Regions from separate parts of the Homo sapiens genome. Here region 2 is linked to region 1. The links are contacts of gene promoters, found by promoter capture Hi-C in blood cells and fetal thymus (Javierre and others, 2016). All regions are on one chromosome and are shown on one strand. The core of a region is centred on a gene start or on the middle of the fragment in contact, and the rest is flanking DNA. Distances in the headings are between cores, read along the strand shown. Region 1 holds the start of LYRM9 (LYR motif containing 9). Region 2 overlaps LINC01992 (long intergenic non-protein coding RNA 1992).

Region 1 (6,212 bases), core at 1,900-4,399:
GCTAAGGACCCCACAAAGAACTCTGGCAGGGTTCATGCATGACCAGGTTCAAGCACTTATAAAGGCACTTGACTGCACTATTATCCAGTACTCCTCAATCTTCTCTACAAAACCTTGCTCCATGCCTTTCTGAAACCCAAGGACATCGTCTGCAGCTTCCCCCTGCATATAGATGGAAAAAAAAAATCAAAAGAAAGAAAGAGTCACCAGGCTGACATCAATTACACAGATAAAGGAAAGGAGCAACTAAAGAAATGCTTAACAACAAAGCTCTTACCAAATCCAAAGGAGAATATGACAGAATTTTTAAAAAGAGAAAATAAAGCTACAAAGGGAATTTCCTGGAAGCCAAGTGTTATCACTGGCACAGATGTTGAGAAGCAGGCCCACAGTCCCATTTAACCCCACTGTCCTTTTCCCTAATCTATGTCCCGATATAGGCACCTAAAAATAAGTGGGAAAAAGTCATATATTAAAAAAAGACGAAAGAATGGAACTGCAGAAAATAACCAGAAATTATGCCCTATTGAGCACTGATACACGCTAAATTAAGCCTGCACAGGCCATTTTTTAAATATGCAATTACTCTTCTTGAAGGGAAAAGTTGAAAAATAGGAATGGAGTGGTTTTGCTTCCCACCCCCACCCACTCCAGGGCTCCATCTTGCACATCTGTGTTCTCCCAAGCTAGCAATGGGGCAGCAATCCCTGCCTCCCCCAGTCCCTCTCCTACATAGCCAAGGCTCTAAAGTCCCCTCACCCCCTCCCTGCCCCCTTCATCCCTGTTGGCATTACCTTGGTTCCCAGCTTTGTACCCATACCTGGCTGGGACTATCCGAATACCTCCTGATCTGTCTCCCTCCTTCCAGCCCAATCCACATGGTGCCACCCAAGAACACTTCCTAAAAAGCACACCCTGTCACTCCCCTTCCTCAGAACCTCTGTAGAGAGTTCTCTACCCATGGCCTTCTGAGATCTGTTTCAATCCCTCTCATCAGTCTCCCCTCCTGCTGTCCTTCCCACACTTCCTGCATTTTAGCCACAGACTGAACTTGGAGGACTCTGGGATCAGACAGTCTGGGTTCAAATCCTGGTTCTATCACCTGCTAGTTCTAGGACCCTGGACGAGTTTCTTAACTTCTATCTCGAAGTCTGTTCCCCATCTGTCAATGCGGTCCCTAATAAATAGTATTTCCTACATAGGACTGTTGTAAGGATGAAATAACGCTCCTAGACTACTAAGCATGATGCCTGGCACACACTACATGTTTCCTACTAACTGTTATTGTTAATACCATCTCTGAAACATGCTGTGCTTTCCCCTACCTTGACTTCTTCACCTGCCTCAAGAATTCCCCTTCATCCTTAGAGATCCAGTTCCCTGTCACCTCCTTCAGGCTTTCATCCCATGCTGTTCACACCCCTATTACAGTCATCACACTGCTCTGTAATCACTTATTGTGATTATAATCGATGTGACAGAACTTAGAGCAGGTTTTGGAGACAAAGAACCCTAGTTTAAAAGCCTACCTCTGCTATCTACTAGCTGTGTAATCCTGGCCAACCTGGTTGACTTCTCTGGACTTCTGCTTCCCCCACTGTAAACTGGAGAAAAGAATAACCCACCTCACAGGGGTTTTGTAAAGACCAACCTAGCTAACTTATGGAAAGTGCCTAGCACAGGGGCTGGCACATCTTAAGTGCTTGAACATCTTTTTTTTTTTTTTTTTGTCCTGAGACAGGGTCTCACTCTGTCACCCAGGCTGGAGTACAGTAGCATGATCAGGGATCACTGCAGTCACAACTGCCCGGGCTCAAACGATTCTACCTCAGCCTCTCAAGTGGCCGGGATCACAGGCACACGCCACCACGTCTGGCTAATTTTTTTAATTATTTATAGAAACGAAGTCTTACTATGTTGCCCAGGCTGGTCTCAAAATTCTAGGCTCAAGTGATCCTCTTTCCTCAGCCTCCTACGGTGCTGAGATTATGGGCATGAGCCACTGCGCCCAGCGTTGAACATCTTACCCTTTCCTACTTTATTTGGCTTTCTGTTCCTTGCTGACTGTAAGCTTCTGAAGAACAAGAAACTATACTGTATTAGTTCAACACCTGTGAAATGAAGGGAAATTAGTAAGAAAAATATATATACGGTTATTAGTCACTCCTCCACAGTTTATAGTACCTGAACCATAACAGAAGTTCCATAGATGTCAATTGATTCCCAAGTTACCAGAGGAAACTAAAGCCAGCAGGAAACTGTCCTGAAGTCAAGAACCTATGGCAGGTGAACCCAGAAAACATTACGCTAAGTGAACAAACCCAGTCACAAGGGGCTACTTAATGTATGATTCCATTTATACGAAACATCCAGAATAGGCAAAAGTACAGAGACAGAAGTACATTGGTGGTTGCCTAGGGCTGGGAGAATGGGAGTAGATGGGAGGGGGGAGTGACAGCTAAAGGAGGTGTTTCTTTTGGGGGGTAATGTTCTAAAACATTATGGTGACAGCTGCACAACTCTGCAAACACACTAAAAGACACTGAATTGTGCACTTTAGATGGGTGAACTGTATGCTTCGTGAATTATATCTCAATAAAACTTTTTAAAACAATAACCACAAAAAGGATCAATCCTAGGAGCGAAAGGGTTTTGGCCACGGAGCAACTTGCTCTTACGCAGAAGCATAAATCATCACGACAAGGTTGCTCCGGCCACCGGGTGCCGCGGGCAGAGGGACGGTGGAGGGGACATTCTCCTTTTAAAAGTGGCCAGGCCCGTGAGCCTCTGAGAGGCTGGCCTCCGGGCTGCCCCGGACCTCGCGCCCCTAGCTCGCGCTGCAGGCCTTTCCTGCTCCTCCGAGGCCGCCCGGCCAGGCCTGCGTCAAGCCCGGGCGCCGCGCTCCGGTGCACTCAGCTCTCCGGTGGAAGAGCGCAGACCGCAAGGGAAAAGGTGCCGGCGCGGGTCGCCCCTAGGTCTTCAATAGATCCGAGGACACCCGAGGCCTCCACATCCCTAGCCCGCCCCCGCCACCCAGTGGCTCCGGCCGCCGCTGCCCCCGCGCCCCCGCCCTCGGCCTCGGCCTGCGCAGCGCGGCTCACCAGCCTCCAGGGGAACGCCAGCCCCGGACGCCGCCGCGGCGACGAGTGCGCCTGCGCCCCGGGGACTGAGCGGCACCGCCCCTGCCCGGCGACGGTGAGCCCAGCGCCCTCTGCCGGCCGCGCGCGGGACTCGGGGTCCTACTGGGTGCCTCTTCCTAGATCCGACCCCACCCAGTTGAAAGCTGTCCCCACTAACAGCCTTCGTTACCTGTTACCTCAAACACCCACTCTGCCTTCTGGCTGTTGCTACGCCGGATATAAGCCCTAAAGGCACTCTCTCCTCCTTATTCCTGAATATGGATTGTGCTATGAATATGGGGTGTTCAAGATCTCTGAAAGGCTTGCTGGAGGACTTTTCCTGAACCTCTCGTGTTGATGACAAGAATTGTGTTTGGATAGGAATCTGCGTTTTGAATCATTTCACCAAATTACAGTCCCATAACACCTGTCAAAAGAATAAATATGACAGTAATAAGCATGCTTCCTTTCAGACCCATCTATAATTATAATTGAGGAAAATAATACAAAATTTAAACTTAGAGCTACTGCCAGTATCATTCTTTGAAAATGAAATAATGCTGTTTATTAAATAGGCTCTCCCTGCTCTCTAATGTTTAAAGCTCAAGTGCTTCTCTGAATTGATTTAAATACAAGTTTTATATCCTGAAAGAAATCAAGATGAGTCATTATCTTAAGACAAACCCCCCTGTTCAATGATGCTGCTGATCTCTCAGCTGATGTCTAAGCGGGAGTTAGGTTGTTAGTGGATAATATTGCTTCTGTTCACGTCTCTCTTCTCCAGGGCTTTTTAAACCTGTTTGTAACGAAAAGGCTGATTTCCTTCAGACTCCATGTGTCGTTGATTTAACAGGACAACTTCTTACAGGTTTTTCTTTTTCCTTTTTCTTTTTTTTTTTTTAAGTAAAACATTGCTCCCCGGTGGCACCTGGGAATCTGTTTTTCTTCTCTTAGGATAAGAGAAGCAGGGATATTTCTTAACGGAAGTTTTGTTTTGTTCCTAACTCCCTTTAGAGCTTCCTCTTTTCTTTTTTTTTCTCTTCACCTAACATACTAGACTTCCCTCAAATCGGGGGTGGGGGATGGGAAGGTGGGGTTCCCTCCCTTGAAATATTCAGATAATTGCTTCCATTTATTTTAAAGATGTAGACTTGGACAAATATATCTGAAAGATACAATTGTACCCTCATAAATCAGCCCTCTTATTTACACATGCATAATCAAGGGCACGTCATTAATGCAGAGCCAATCAATAAATCATTAAGCTTTTAAAGCCCTTATTAAGAACAATCTGCAGTAACATCATCCACTCCTGTGCTCAGTCTTAGGATCATTTAATAATTTTAAGAAATTTCACAGTCTGTTCTGTAGTCTCATCTCCCTTTTGTTCCTAGATAGCTGTATTCCTGCATCAGAAACATGGTTCTAATACCTAGATCTCATAAAATATTGAAGATGCAAGCTGTTTGCTTTACCTCTGAAAGGCTCCACCTTCAGAATCACTTGTGCCTCTTCCAATTTTACAAACGCACAAGATTTTAACTTTCACAACAATTTCTTATAAACATCCAAATACTAAGAAAAAAAAATCCAAAGTAGGAGAGATTTGAACAATAATCTCTAATTTTTTTTCCAAGTCACAATGGAAACCTAGATTTGAAAATAATTGAATTTGAACCTTTCAACTTGACAGCAACCTTAGGTTCTTACAGCTTCAATAGTAAAATGAAATAATTTTTACTAGTCCAAACATTCACTTAAAATGACACCAGTCTCATAATCTGATAAAACCCCAACCATTTTTACCATGTCATTTTCCTATACACTGAAATTTTAGCAGATGAACCCCCTTATGTCAGACAGTGCATGATATTTACAGATAAACAAAATAGAAAGACCTTTTACTTGAGAAATTAGTCACCCACTGTCCAGGGGACATGTTCGCACAGGGGAGTTTATTGACTTTCCTAAGAAATACACCACATTCTCTTGATTTCTGACATTATGTCATTTAGCCTGACAACTGCAGATTTGTAACCAGTATTTGTAGGGAAAGATACAAGAAGTCCTGACGTTTCCAGTTTAAACCTGTTTTTAGATTTCAAAGAGAAATGATAACGTTTGCATCCTCTGATTAAATCAGGTTATTGTCTCCAAGGGTGACCATGTAAATAATTCAAATTAATTCATCAGTGTACAATAGGTTTAATAAGCATAATAAACACTTTTAAGAAAATACTTAAGACCCTCGGTCTGCCCTCGATCTTGCTCCCTATTATCTCAGATTTCCCTGAGAACAGAATGAGTGGTACCACGTTGTTCTCTTCTATTCAAAATATGCAAAGCTGCTATTTACCAGCTTGCAATTTGCATGTCTCAAATCCTGCCAGAACACAGGGTGAGGGCCATGGGGTGATGGGTGAATATGCCAGAAGAGGACACCAGGGGCGAAAATGGAAAATGGGGTGAACAGATTTTCCTTACCCCAGCGTATTGCAAAACACAACTCTTGCTGACTACTCAAGATTTAAGACAATAAAAATATTGGGTATGAAAGGTTATGTGAAATCTCAGACATCTAGTTTGTTTTTCTTTAATTGCTGGGCAAAAGAAAGGGATGAGCAAGGATTTCAATATTTTTATAAAAGGGAACACAAGAGGAAAAAGGGTACAATTGTGACTATTTACAACATACACTTGGAGATTAATTTATGGGCTGGGTTTCAGCCTTCCTGGTCCTCCATACTATGTTACTTTCTGCAGCACCATAAATCCAACTTTGCTGACTGGTATATGTCATTCTCTGTTTCTAGTGTGTTCTGTAGTAATTTATTAACAGTGACCACATGTGAAACCACATTGGTGATCAGATGTATGTTATCTCTGAATATGTCCCCACTTTTTTTATCTCTTGAAAATATGTTCTATGTCTCATGATTTCAAATTGTAAATAACATACACACATACACATAATGTTTTGTATGAATCACCTTTGGAATGGAATTTCTTTTTCATAAAAATTTCAAGTGCATGCTGGATGTGTATGTGGCAATATTACCAAAGGAGTGAATGCGCTTGGGAACATTCTTCTTT
Region 2 (6,212 bases), core at 2,112-4,611, 51 kb after region 1:
TTGAAGTTAATGCTCATTTACCTACAGATCCTTTTCCCTGGAAATCACCTCTTGTGGAACATGAGTGGAGAAGACAATTAGACAAGAAATATTTATCACTGGGACCAAATTTTAACTAGAGTCATAGAATGAAGAGGTCAGGGCTCCAGAGACAAAGTGAAGCAGAGAATTAAAATAATTATCTGGATCATTCAGGGGAAATAAAATCATTGTTTTTGCTTGAGTGAGTGTCTGAATGATCTAAATAATTGTCCCCACCCTTTGTTTTGGTCTGGTAGTGAAGACCTGGCCAATCGATCCAGTAGCAAAGGATGGAAGTTGGAAGTTTGTGGCGAGAAAGGACAGGAAGGCTGAGTAAGCCTGAATCCCCCTGGTCCTGCAGGCCTGAGCATTGGGCAGAGGCTGGCCCAGTCCAGAGCTTGGGCTGGAGAGGGAAGGATGGTATTCCTGGAAGCTAGAGACCAGAAAGTAAGCAACGCTGAAAGTCGCATGGGAAACCAAGGTCGACAAACCCAGAATACAGCCAGAAGGAGCCAGGTTTAGTGAGTGAATCCAGGAAGCTAAAAGATTAAGCAGAACAGAATCATGAGGGGTGTGTGTGTGTGTGTTTGTGTGTGTAGTTAGGAAAGGTTAAACAATTGACTATACCAGAGGTTTGCAGCTTCTTGGACTCCACTGGCCAATCAAGAGAAGTGGAATTTTTCTGGGGCAGTGGCGGTATGCTAGTGTGCAAATGGAAGGTATGGTGTTATTCAGCGGGCCCTGCAAGTCTCCCCTTCCCAGAAACAACTACTTTATTTCTAGATATAGAATAATAATAATAGTAAAAAGACAGCTACTTTATGTAAATGCATGAATGATCCATTGCTTGAGATTTATTCGTGGCCTACTTGTGTGTTCATTTTTCAAACACAAATTTTCCTTGGAGGACAAATCAGTAGTTTCCAAGCTTACTATAGAAATTAACAATAACTAATTGTGGTAGATTTTAAATTCCACAGTTATTCAATATTGTTCCTTTTAAGAGACAGAACTTAATTCCCATCTCCTTGAGCATGGCTTGGACTGGGTGACTCATGACCGATAAAATATAGCAGAAGTTATGGTGTGTGATTTCCAAGTCTGGGTTATAAAGTGTTTTGTAGATTCCTCCTAGTTCCCTCTTTTGGATTGTTTGCTAAGGTAGAAGCCACCTGCCACATCACTAGGACACACAAGCAGCCAATGCAGATGTCCATGGAGTAAGGAACTGAGGCCTCCTGCCAATAGCTGCGTGAGTGTGCCACCTTGGAAGCAGACTGTCCAGCCCCAGTCAAACCTTCAAATGACTGCGGCCCCAGCTGACATTTCACTGCATCTTCGTGAAAGGCCATCAACCAGAACCACCCATCTAAGCCATTCCTAATTTCTAGTCCTCGGAAACTGAGTTATCTAATAAATGTTTGTTATTTTAAGCTGCTAAATTTTGGGATGGTTTGTTACTCATCAATAAATATTACAATAATCATAGCTAAGATTTACTGAACATGTACATGTGGCAGGCTTCACATATATTAACATATTTAAATGGCTTAACAATCATATGAGATAGTTACTATTACCAGCTCCATTTTGTAGTTGAGGAAACTGAAGTATACAAAGTTATACATAGTGAATACTGTTAGTTCCCTTTCCTGGCTGTAAATGTTGGCTGCTAAAGACTCACAGCTTCCCCTCTTTCCAGAGAATTGCCCCTGGCTGGATAGGAGTGGTCTCACCTAGGAAGTTATACACTGCCTTCCCCTCCCACTATGGCAGCCCTCAGCCACTGACTAGTTGATGCAGGGCAGGACCACCACAAAGTGGGACCAACTGTATGGTGCAATTCTCCCTCCAAATTTTTTTGCGGTGGAGTCAAGCAAAAGCTAGACTCTAGCTGGGATTACATTCTTGCTTAGATCCATTTGCTACCTCTATCCTGCTTTCCTTGCCCCTTTTCTCCCAAAAGCACTCCCTCAATAAATCAAGTGCGTTGGAATCTTGTCTCAGGCTCTTTTTAAGGAACTCAACCTAAGTTAGGCATAGTGATTTACCCAAAGTCATTGCTATGGTTTAAATATTTGTCCCCTCCCAAACTCATGTTGCCATTTAATTGCCATTGTGATGGCATTAAGAGGTGAGACCACTAAGAGGTGATTAGGCCATGAGCACTCCGCTCTCAAGAATGGATTAATGCCATTATCAAAGGAGTGGGTTCTTATAAAAGGTCCAGTTTTCCCCTTTTTTCTCTCTCTTATCCTCTTGCCTTCCTCCATGGGATGATACAGCAAGAGGATCCTCACAAGATGCTGGCACCTTGATCTTGGACTTCCCAGCCTCTAGAACTGTGAGAAATAAATTTCCATTCTTTATAAATTAGTCCATCCCAAATATTCTGTTGTAGCACCAAAATGGACTAAGACAGCCAAACAGCCTGGGTTTGCACGCGACAGTCTGACTTCAGAGTTCTTGCCCTTAAAAATATCTCTGGAAGAGTAACAAATACCAGTAGAGAGCAGTAGCACAATCATAGTTCACTGCAACCTTGAACTCCTGGGCTCAAGCCATCCTCCTGCCCCAGCCTCCCAAGTAGCTGGGACTACAGGCATGCATCACCACACCTGGCTAATTTGTAATTTTTTTGTGTGGAGATGGGGTCTTGTTACATTGTCCAGGCTGGTCTCGAACTACTGGGAGTTCCTCAAGGATCCTCCCACCACCTTGGCCTCCCAAAGTGCTGGGATTACAGGCATGAGCCATGGTGCCTGGCCACTACTAAATTTTCAGCTCCTATTTTGGCATGAGACAAGTGGTGGGTGGTTCAGTTCGGCTTTTTGTAACTGCTAGTTCTGTCCCCCACCCCGCCCCGCCAACACACACCATGGATAGTACCACGTGAAAGCCAGTCCTCCTGCCCCTCATATTCATCCCTTACCTCCCACCCTAATTAATCTGGTCCAGATCCTCATTCTTGCCATGAATTTTAGCCTCCTCTCTTAGATAGGATTTACATGTTCTTGCCTATAGTGGGTGAAATTGAGTCCTAACCCCTGGTACCTGTGAATGTGATCTTATCTGGAAGTAGAATCTTTGCAGATGTGATTAAGGTAAGGATCTGAAGATGAGATTATCCGGGATTTAGGGTGCGTCTAAATGCAATGACTAGTGTCCTTATAAAAGAAAGGAGAAATTGGAGACAAAGAGACACAGGGGGAAAACCACATGAAGACAGGGTGTAGAGATCAGAGGGATACATCTGCAAGCCACAGCATGCCAGGATTGGATTGCAGAGCCACAGAAGCGAGGAGATACACAGGGAACAGATTCTCCCTCGGAGCCTCCAGAAAGAACCAGCCCTGCTGACACCTTGATTCCAAACTTCTGGCCTTCAGAGCTATGAGACAACACGTTTCCATTATGTCAAGCCTTCCAGTATGTGGTCATTTGTTATGGCGGCCACAGGAAACAAATACACTTCCCTTCAGAGGCCCCTGTTCATCTCAGCCCTAAACCCAGCAGCAGTCTCTGGAGTGAGGTTGGGGAATTACAAAAGCCGTAACAGGCATGCATCACCACACCTGGCTAATTGTTAATTTTGTGTGTGTGGAGATGGGGTCTTGTTACATTGTTTACAAAGCCACAGCCTTGTGGTTGTTATAGTTCCCATTTTGCTTTGTTTTGTTTTGTTTTGTTTCATTTTGTTTTTTACAATCGAGGAAATGGGCCCAGGAAGTTCAAGTGATTTTTTCCAAAGTCCCTTACACCAGCAGTCCCCAACCTGTTTGACACCAGGGACCAGTTTTGTGGAAGACAATTTTTTCATGGACAAGGGGCAGGGGGGAAATGGTTTTGGGCTGAAACTGTTCCACTTCAGATCATCAGACATTAGTTAGATTCTCATAAGGAGCACGCAAACTAGATCCCTCCCATGTGCAGTTCACAGTAGGGTTTCCGCTCCTACGAGACTCTAATGACGCCGCTGCTCTGACAGGAGGCAGAGCTCAGGTGGTCATGCTCGCCTGCCCTCCACTCAGCTCCTGCTCTGCAGCCTGGTTCCTAACAAGCCATGGACTGGTACTGGTCCCTCAGGGGTTGGGGACCCCTGCCCTATATAGATGGTGTATAAAGCCCAGATTGTGGGTCTCTAGACTCCAAATCCTGAAGTTTTTAGTCCTCAAGAGGAGACTGGCAATGATACAAGGACACTACTAAAGTCTTTCTGTTCACTGTCTATAACTCTTCATTTTAAAATCTAGGTATTTGGGGATATGGAGTGTAGGGGGAACAGGAAGGTGGGACCTAGCTTCTTATCCTTCTGCCTTTGACAGCATATAATGTCTCCCATAAAGTGCAGCAGCAAAGTCTAACTTAAGCATTTAAGTGACCCCTTCAGTTCCTTAATGATGCTATAAATGCAATCCTGGTGTGATTTATAAAGCTATTAAAATAAATGCTTCCACTGAAATAAACATTGCTACCTCTCAGCATATGTTTACTTGCATAACCTAAGCACAAACTTACCCGAATATGCAAAACCTGAACCAAAGATGATAAACGGAGGGCCTGGGTGCCGTACACAAATGAACTGGATGTGTGTGGGTCTTGACAGCATCTTCTAGGGACAGCTGGTCTTTCAGACTTTTTTTTTCTTAGTCATGGTCTTTCAGTCTTGAAGCCTTGCCTTGTTTCTCAGTTTGGAGAAATGCCTCCCTCCATGGTCTGACGCCTAGCTGATGCCTCTCTATCCATGAATTTCGCATTATGCACAGAAAAGCACTTTTTAAAATGCTCTCCTCAACCTTTGTGCATGGTTCAGCTCCCATGGAGAGCCCCACTTGAGTCTTTACCATTTTTCATGTCACAGAAATGTTTGTAGGCCCTGGGCCATGGGAGGTTTTGGAGCAAGAGGGGCATGATGAAATTTGCTAATCACATCTTGGAACCATGAGATTTTAGGTCTATATTCAAAGAGGCATGAACCCAGGGCCTGAATTTAATTCATCTTCAACCTCACAGCTCTTTGGACTGTGCTGCATTGGTCATTATGTAAGAAGGAACATTTGAGAAGAAATCGAGTAGGTTTGAGATGATGCCCAGGAGTCATAGGACACAATGGAAAAGCAACAGGGAACAGTTTACACCAGTCTGTCTGGTTCACTATGATATCCTCAGTGCCTACCATGGGTGCCTGGCACATACAGCTTGCTGTAAATAAGTGTAGAAGGAAGTGAGACAGAGAGGGAGGCCCTAGGGAATTCAGTCCAAGTCCTGGTTCCACTACATACTAGCTGTGTGATGATGGGAAAATTTATTAATTTCTCTGAATCTCCACTTCCTCATTTTGAACTGAGGACAATAATATCTTTCTATTGTAAGTCTTACACAATACAACTCATAAAAATGTCTAGAACGGTGCTGCACAGAATAGGTGCTCTATTCCATAAATGTTCATTGAATGAATGAATGAAAGTCTGGCTGTTTCCCTGCGGATGAATGGCCCTTGAGCTTGGAGACATTGAGTATGGTGCACAGGGACAAGCTGATCACTTCCCAAGGCATGTCAGTGGAGCGCTGCCTGTCTCCTTATTTATGTGCCAGGTTTTCATCATTTGCCATCCACACTTAGGGGATTAATTCCCTGGCAAGTGCAGCCAGTAATACACAGCCAGCCATACGACACAGATAACAGCAGCTACGGTTGTAATTCCCATCCCATTGACAGCCCTTCAACCAACAGAGGAAGGATGGAGCAGCTGAAAGCTTCCATTCAAAGTCAGTAACAATAAGTTACAAGTGACTACGTATGTGGAGGGCAAGTGAGAGGGGGCAGGAGGAGGGTGAGCAGCCAGCCCCTTCTCTTTGTGCTAGTGTAGCAAGCAGGATCCAGCCAGGAAGTGTGCCCAAGTGCCTGCTTAGATGTTAGGGAAATGATTAAAGTTTTCCAATTTTGGAAACAGAAGTTTAATAGTTTATTTTTTTCCTCTTTTTACCCAACACCTTTGGAACCTTTAAGATTGTATTAATTGGAATATAAAATGTTTCAGGTGCAGTGGAAAACAGCATGGTGATTCCTCAGAAATTAAACATAGAATTACTATATGATCCAGCAATTACACTGCTAGGTATACACTCAAAAGAACTGAAAACTAATACCCAACCCAGTACCTCTCCAGGAATGTTTATTACAGCAGCAT

The links. The method cuts DNA at HindIII sites, captures the fragments that hold promoters and counts their contacts. A CHiCAGO score of 5 or more calls a contact.
Region 2: a fragment that was not itself captured here is called in contact with the fragment with the promoter of LYRM9 in region 1 in 1 of 17 cell types (megakaryocytes); the score reaches 5.2 in megakaryocytes.

The regions. Positions count from the first base shown.
Region 1 is chr17:27,890,216-27,896,427 of GRCh38, forward strand. It overlaps LYRM9 (LYR motif containing 9), which reads right to left and starts at 3,150. Exons shown (of 4, transcript NM_001076680.3): 1 at 3,102-3,150. RefSeq lists a silencer at 2,782-3,331. The HindIII fragment of the contact is 2,313 bases long and covers 2,070-4,382 here.
Region 2 is chr17:27,941,435-27,947,646 of GRCh38, forward strand. All of the region lies in intron 2 of LINC01992 (long intergenic non-protein coding RNA 1992), which reads right to left. Among named protein-coding and RNA genes, the nearest start is that of LINC01992, 47 kb to the right of the region's middle. RefSeq lists enhancers at 3,783-3,842, 3,893-3,952. The HindIII fragment of the contact is 4,829 bases long and covers 948-5,776 here.